Linked DNA regions of Homo sapiens: region 1 is linked to region 2. The links are contacts of gene promoters, found by promoter capture Hi-C in blood cells and fetal thymus (Javierre and others, 2016). All regions are on one chromosome and are shown on one strand. Each heading gives the region's core, a stretch centred on a gene start or on the middle of the fragment in contact. The rest is flanking DNA. Distances are from core to core; before and after follow the strand shown.

Region 1 (3,941 bases), core at 1,234-3,733, 140 kb after region 2:
GCAGCCCCCAGTCACGTACCCCCACCTGCTCAATCGATCACGACCCTCTCATGTGGACCCCCTTAGAGTTGTGAGCCCTTAAAAGGGACAGGAATTGCTCACTCGGGAGCTTGGTTTTTTGGATATGTGTCTTGCCGATCTCCTGGCCGAATAAAGCCCTTCCTTCTTTAACTCAGTGTCTGAGGGGTTTTGTCTACAGCTTGTCCTGCTACAAAAGGAGCACATTATTTCAGTCAGCACTGTGCTGATCTGTGTTGACTCCCAGGATGGGAACAGGACAGTATTTCCCAAACTTTAATCATTTCAGAAGCTGCCTTATGACTTTTGCCATTTCCACTTATTATCTGTACTATTCAATCCCTTTTCTTCAGGTTTTTAAAGATTAAATTTTTTTTTCATTTTTTTTTTTTTTGAGACGGAGTCTTGCTCTGTCGCCCAGACTAGAGTGCAGTGGTGCGATCTTGGCTCACTGCAAACTCTGCCTCCTGGGTTCAAGCGATTCTCCTGCCTCAGCCTGCCACTGCACCCAGTTAATTTTTGTATTTTTAGTAGAGATGGGGTTTCACCATCTTGGCCAGGCTGGTCTTGAACTCCTGACCTCGTGATCCACCCGCCTTGGCCTCCCAAAGTGTTGGGATTACAGGCGTGAGCCACCGTGCCTGGCCTTAAATCTGTTTTAAAAAGAAATCTGGGAATTCACTATCACTCGACTTAAATAGAAGGCAACTGTAAAAACATATGCAATAAAATGATTAAGTTCTGACTAGATACAGTTTTAAAAGAAATTAGCAAAGTGTTTGGAGCTAGGATTCAAACCCAGGATTGAGCCAGAGACAAGGTCTTAACAACGGTGATTCATGTACCGCCTAACCGTGCCATTTAGGAAACCACTGGGGAGGAATGTAGTAGAATGGAACTTGCTGAGAATGAGAGCCAGTGAGGAATGGTGGAGGGTGGGGACTGAAATTTAATGGGAAGCCTTGGAATAGGGTTGCCAGATATATTACAGGACACTCAGTTAAATTTGGATAAAAGTATGTCACAACTAAAAAGGTACTTGCTTGTTTGAAATTCAAACTTAACGGGAGATCCTGCATTCTTATTAACTAAACCTGGCAATCCTAAAAACTTAACGGGAGGTCCTGCATTCTTATTAACTACACCTGGCAATCCCACCTAGGAATCAAGGGCATGATTCCAGCAGGAAATTTATCCTCAGGGAGAGGCAGGCAGTAGTTGCGTCTGTGAGGCCTGTGGTAAGACTAACCCCTGTCACTAGGCAGCAGTAGAGAACCGAGCAGAGCAGGGGGAGGGGCTGATAGTGGGGAGAGAAGAGCGGACGGGTGTGGGACTTTGGGGCCGCTCTAGGTCCTCATGCAGAATCTCAAATCAAATTAGCAAAAGACAGGAACAGGCAGCTCACAGACAAACAGCTTATACATGGCTAATAAACAAGAAAAGACGGGCTGGGCGCAGTGGCTCACGCCTGTAATCCCAGCACGTTGGGAGGCTCCGGCAGGCGGATCACCTGAGGTCAGGAGTTCGAGACCAGCGTGGCCAACACGGTGAAACCCCATCTCTACTAAAAATACAAAAAATTAGCTGGGCGTGGTGGTGGGCACATGTAATCCCAGCTACTCAAGAGCCTGAGGCAGGGGAATCACTTGAACCCGGGACGCGGAGGTTTCAGTGGGCCAAGATCGTGCCATTGCTCTCCAGCCTGGAGGACAAAAGTGAAACTCTGCCTCAGAAAAAAAGAAACAAAGAAAAAAAAGAAAAAGAAAAAAATGCATAGTCCTACTCATAATTGAATTAGTCAACCTAAAATGAGTTCTTTTCCATCTCTCAGATTGGCAAAAATTTAAATATGAAAAAGATTACTAATACTGTGTTGTGGAAGTGTGAGAAAATACTATGTAGAGCAGAGACTGGTCACAGAAATTCAGGGACTGGAGTTTTTAAGGTTAATTTGGTGGGTAGAGTCTCAGGAAGTGGGGAATGCTAATTGGTCAGGTTGGAGATGAAATCATAGGGAGCTGAAGCTGTCCTCTTGCGCTGAGTCAGTTCCTGGGTGGGGGCCACAAGACCAGATGAGCCAGTTTATTGATCTGGGTGGTGTCAGCTGATCCATCGAGTACAGGATCTGCAAACTATCTCAAGCACTGATCTTAGGTTTTACTGTAACCTAAGATGTTATCCCCGGGAGCAATTTGGGGAGGTTTAGAATATTGCAGTCTCCAGCTGCATCTCTCAGACTGGCAAAAATTAAAATATCAAAAAAGATTACTAGTACTCTGTTGTGAAAGTGTGAGAAAATACTATGTGAGTAGAGACTGGTGCATCCTCTTTGGATTAATATCAAAAGAAGAGATGCACATAGCCTTTAATCAATGACGTAACTCCCAGGGATTTATCAGACAGATTTACTCTCCCTTAGATGTGGAGACATAAGAGGTTGTAAGTGCAACCTGGAGCTGGGTTGCTAGTCCATAAAGCACCTTGGATATCAATGTCGACTCCGCCAGCTGTGATGTCACTTGACCAATGGGAGGAGAGAGGGGAAGCGCTGGCTTAGGGAGCTGAATGTTGTCCACTCCCTCTCCCTGCCCTCTACAGCTTTTTCCCCCCAGCTGTGGCTGCTCTGGGAAGCAGAAGTAAATATTGATTTTTAGAACCATCTAGACCTGATGTCAAATCTGGTTCTGTCACTTACTTGCTGTGTGACCTTGTCCTAGCAAGTTCACCTCTCATTTTATTTTATTTTATTTTATTTTGATATGGAGTCTCGCTCTGTCGCCCAGGCTGGGTGCAGTGGCGCAATCTCCGCTCACTGCAAGCTCCGCCTCCCGGGTTCACGCCATTCTCCTGCCTCAGCCTCCCAAGTAGCTGGGACTACAGGCGCCTGCCACCACGCCCGGCTAATTTTTTGTATTTTTTGTAGAGACGGGGTTTTGCCATGTTGTCCAGGCTGGTCTCAAACTCCTAACCTCAGGTGATCCACCCACCTCGGCCTCCCAAAGTTCTGGGGTAACAGGCGTGAGCCATCACATCTGGCCTCACCTCTCCTTTTCATTCATTTGATGATACATGTATTCAAAAATATTTATTGAGAATTTACTACTAGGCACTGCAATTTTGTGGTGAACAAGACAAAGTCTCTTTATCTCTTAGAACTTTCAGGCATGCAGGGTTGTTGGGGAGACACAATAAACAAGAAAACTAATAAATGGTGTAATATGGAAATGGTAGTAGATACTAAAAAGACAATAAGATAAGATGGTTGGGTATGGTGGCTCACGCCTGTAACCCCAACCAAGGCAGGAGGATCTCTTGAGCCCAGGAGTTTGAGACCAGCCTGGGAAACATAGTGAGACCTTGTCTCTACTATAAACAAAAAATTAGCTGGTGTGGTGGTGTGCACCTGTGGTCCCAGCTACTTGGGAGGCTGAGGCAGGAGGTATCACCTCAGCCCGAGAGGTGGAAGCTGCAGTGAGCCGTGATGGTGTCACTGCATTCCTGCCTGGGCAACAGAGTGAGACCCTGTCTCAAAACAAAAAACAAACAAAAACAATAAAATAAGATAAAATGATACAGTGACCAGGGATGTTGCTTATATGTAATAGGAGATGACAATTCTGTTTCACAGGGTTGACATCAAAATTACATAAGATACTACATATGAAGCACTTAGCATTGTGCCCGAGACAGGGTATTAATTATGGTAACAATTACTGAATGTTTGTAATGTGCTAGACACTGTTCCAAGTACTATGGGTAGACTAACTCATGTAATGACCTTGTTTTCCAGATAAGGAAACTGAAGCACAGGTAGGCTGAATTACTTGCCTAAAGTCAGGGAATTAGCAGAGGATAGAACTGTGACATTCTGGCCTCAGAGCCTACAGTTTTAACTGTTTTATTAAATATTAGTGTCTGTCTGT
Region 2 (3,724 bases), core at 342-2,841:
CCTGGCCAACATGGTGAAATCCCGTCTCTACTAAAAATACAACAATCAGCTGTGTGAAGTGGTGGGCACCTGTAATCCCCAGCTACTTGGGAGGCTAAGGCAGGAGAATCGCTTGAACCTGGGAGGCGGAGATTGCAGTGAGCCAAGATCGTGCCACTGCACTCCAGCCTGGGTGACAGAGCAAGACTCTAAAAAAAAAAAAAAAAAAAAAAGAGTCATGGAACAGATACTCTTCAGTTACATACTATGTAAAACAATATACCGTTTTTTTCAAAAAGTGATATATAAAAGTTACAACATGGATCTTTACCTGGGTCACAATCTTCTATGGCTTCCCATATGTCTTCTATAACTAAGGATAACAAGTTTATCAAAACAAAACCAAGAAGCCTAAAATATACGATTACACAACCAATATATGCTTTATTTTGAAAGCTGTCATTTTCTCCTTAGAGATTATTTGGTCTTCAATCAAGAACTATGGGGGCGATTTAACTGGAAAAAGTCTGTTTTTAAAAAAGTTTTACACATAATAGTGTGTTTTATTAAAAATTGAAACCGCTTAAACCGCTGATTGCTACCATTCTTGCTTTGACAAAACTATCCCAAGCTAACACGTTGAACTGGTCAAGACTCAACTCTCAATCATTTTACATAGTTTTGGAAAATTACAACAAAACATAACAAAAGCCATTCCACTCTGGTGTGAGGTGCCACGTTTGAAGTAATTATATAAATAAATCATGGCTTTAAAATACAAAATGCTTAACTGCTTTTTTAAAAATTGAAAAAAAAAACACTAGTCTTGAGCCGTGAAGATCATAAATTAAGCTCAAAGCAAATAAATACGCGTTATAAGAAGCATACACTTAAAAGTAGTTACTCTTAGAAAATCCCTGAAATGGTAATGGTATGTATTTCACCTGGGGCAGTAAGGGACTGGTATTTTCGCTTCTTTTCTGGAGAATACAAAACTGAAAAGGCCACACTCTCTGCGGGTCGGCAAAAGAAAGGCTAAGACTGGAGGATCCCTAGATTGGGACAGGAGTAGAGGATTGCCTCAGATCTACAACTAAGTATGATCCCTTGTTTGTGTTTATAAAAACAAACGAAAAACTACACTGCCCCACAGACAGCTCCAAACTCAGTGGAAGAGAGGAGGGCGGGTGGGCGGCAGGTGTCAGGTAGCCTCCGCTCCACGCCTTTGTTGACTGTCGCCGTCCCCCACCCTCCCAGCTCCCGTACGGGGATTCCCGCACCAGGCGACAGGCGCCTCGGGGCGGGGTTCTGAGGAGGTCGCTAAGGACTGCACCGGGGCTTCCGGCCCGTCTGGGAAGCTTGCTTGGCTGGGCCGGGACGGACTCGACAGGGCGCGGAAGGGAGCGGTGGGCGCGCCCTGGGAGGCGAGCGCGTCGCAGCCTCACCTTGGACACCATTTTCTTGAGCTGGCTCTCCGACACCGCCATGACGGCCGCCTGGCGACTCCCTTCCCCGCAGGCAGAGGGTCAGCCGCTGCTGGGCTGCCCCAGACCGTCCCACACAATCGCACACCCCCAACCCGGCCTCAAACAACAGGAAGTCGGCACCACTACACCACTTCCGCTTCCACTACGTCACTTCCGGGCCGCCGTCCTGCGGGCAAGGGTGGACACCGTGTGGGATTGAGAGGGGCCTGGTGGGGTGGGTTCCAACCAACCCGCCCCTCGAGTGCCGGAATCAGCAGGACGAATCGGGTCCCAAAGATGTGGGCAAGACTGTTCCGAGGGTCGAAACTCTGGTTCAGGATAAGATTAGCAGGTATTTCACAGAGTCGACTTAAGGAAGCTAGTGCCGGAGAGGGAAGAAGTACGAAGGGCTTGCCAGTGAGCCTTAATGACTGATTGATCAAGTGGGAGGGCACTGCACTGGCGGTCAGAGAACTGTTCTGTCACTGACTTGCTCTTGTGATAATGGTAGGCTAGTGCATTTCTAGCTCAGGCGCAAATTTCTCCCGACTCTAAAGTCATACACTTGCCTTAGATGATGCCCAGTGGTCCTCTAATTAATGATTTTTTTTAAGCTTAAAGACCTTCATACTATACGTTGGCAAGGGTAAAGTGTAGAGCCTTTGTTTCACAAGAAGCCAGATAGTAATTTCTTCTCCAGGAAATCATTCCGTAAGTCAGAATTTCTCCTCTGTACCCACCCATAAATGATAATACAGGCCGTATTTTACCTGGTGCTGTATTTGTGTACCTGTCCGCTGTCAAAATCCAAGCCCTTGAAGGCAGGCTTCCTTCAGATCTTCATTGCCTTGCACAATGCAAGGGTAGGTACTTCCATCTTAATTGAATTTTTACTTCCCATAAAAATTCTTCATGGTGACTTACATTAGTCATCATTACACATCACCGTCAGTTTTGTAAGCACAGTGTCATTCAAGGTATTGTAAAATTTTGAGTTTGATGATGTGTGACAGTTTCAATTATTTTAGTACAGCCCTAATGAGAACAAGGCCGTAGTATTGATTCCCTTCAAAGTTGGCGTCTAAGTGAAGGTCACATTCACAAGGAGGGCCTAACTGAAAGCATGTGGAAGCATCATTATAAACTGTTGCTAACACGCACAAATAAAGGCTATTAATAGGTATTGTTTTTCTTTTTCTTTTTCTTTTTTTTTTTTTTTTGAGTCACTCTCACTCCATCGCCCAGGCTGGAGTGCAGTAGCACCATCTCGGCTCACTGCAACCTCCGCCTCTGTTTTTCAGCTCCTTAGTTAAGCATACAGCTCCAGTCAAACCAAACTAGAGGTCTGTCTGTCCTTCCATTTTACTTGCTGTTTTATGTCTTTTAAAAGCAAGAAGGTTTTCAAACTGTTCTTAAAGCCACGGCTTAACCAGGAGTCCCTTTAATTAGAGCAACTGTACCTTTGTGAGTTGGAGGAATGCCAGGTAATATATATTATTTATATATTTTATAAATGCAACATTTATAAATATTAAAATAAATTTTACATATATATATATATATATATATATATATATATATATTTTTTTTTTTTTTTTTTTTTTTTTTTTTTGAGACAGAGTTTTGCTCTTGCTTCCCAGGCTGGAGTGCGATAGTGTGATCTTGGCTCACTGCAACCTCTGCCTCCCGGGTTCAAGCGATTCTCCTGCCTAAGCCTCCCGAGTAGCTGGGATTACAGGTGCCCACCACCACACCCAGCTAATTTTTTGTATTTTTAGTAGAGACAGGATTTCACTATGTTGGCCAGGCTGGTCTGGAACTCTTGACCTCAGGTGATCCACCCGCCTCAGCCTGCCAGAATGTTGGGATTACAGGCGTAAGCCACTGCGCCCAGCCCATTTATATATTTTTGTTGCCCAGGTCATGGTGCAGTGATGTGAACATGGCCCACTGCAGCCTCGACCTCCCTGGCTCAAGTGATCCTCCTGCCTCAGCCTCCCATGTATATTGGGACCACATGCGTGTGCCACCATGCCCAGCTAATTTTTAATTTCTTTGTAAAGATGAGGTCTTACTTTGTTGCCCAGGCTGGCCTCAGAACTCCTGGGCTCAGGTGATCCTCCCACCTTAGCCTCCCAAAGTGCTGGGATTACAGGTGTGAGTCACTGTGCCCAGCAATATATTGTTTAAAAAAGCTTTCTTGCTGCATGTTTACTATCAGTCTTTTGCAATCTTTTAGGGTCAACACTATACCTCAATATAAAGTGTTAACTTCTTAT

What was found. Contacts are between HindIII fragments. The CHiCAGO score rates a contact against its expected background, and 5 or more counts as called.
Region 1: a fragment that was not itself captured here is called in contact with the fragment with the promoter of TSG101 in region 2 in 1 of 17 cell types (naive CD4 T cells); the score reaches 6.5 in naive CD4 T cells.

The regions. Positions count from the first base shown.
Region 1 is chr11:18,667,399-18,671,339 of GRCh38, forward strand. No RefSeq gene overlaps it. Among named protein-coding and RNA genes, the nearest start is that of TMEM86A, 29 kb to the right of the region's middle. RefSeq lists an enhancer at 1,058-1,559. The HindIII fragment of the contact is 8,479 bases long and covers 1-3,941 here.
Region 2 is chr11:18,525,351-18,529,074 of GRCh38, forward strand. It overlaps TSG101 (tumor susceptibility 101), which reads right to left and starts at 1,592. Exons shown (of 10, transcript NM_006292.4): 1 at 1,425-1,592. The coding sequence starts at 1,466. RefSeq lists an enhancer at 1,752-1,861. The HindIII fragment of the contact is 722 bases long and covers 1,336-2,057 here.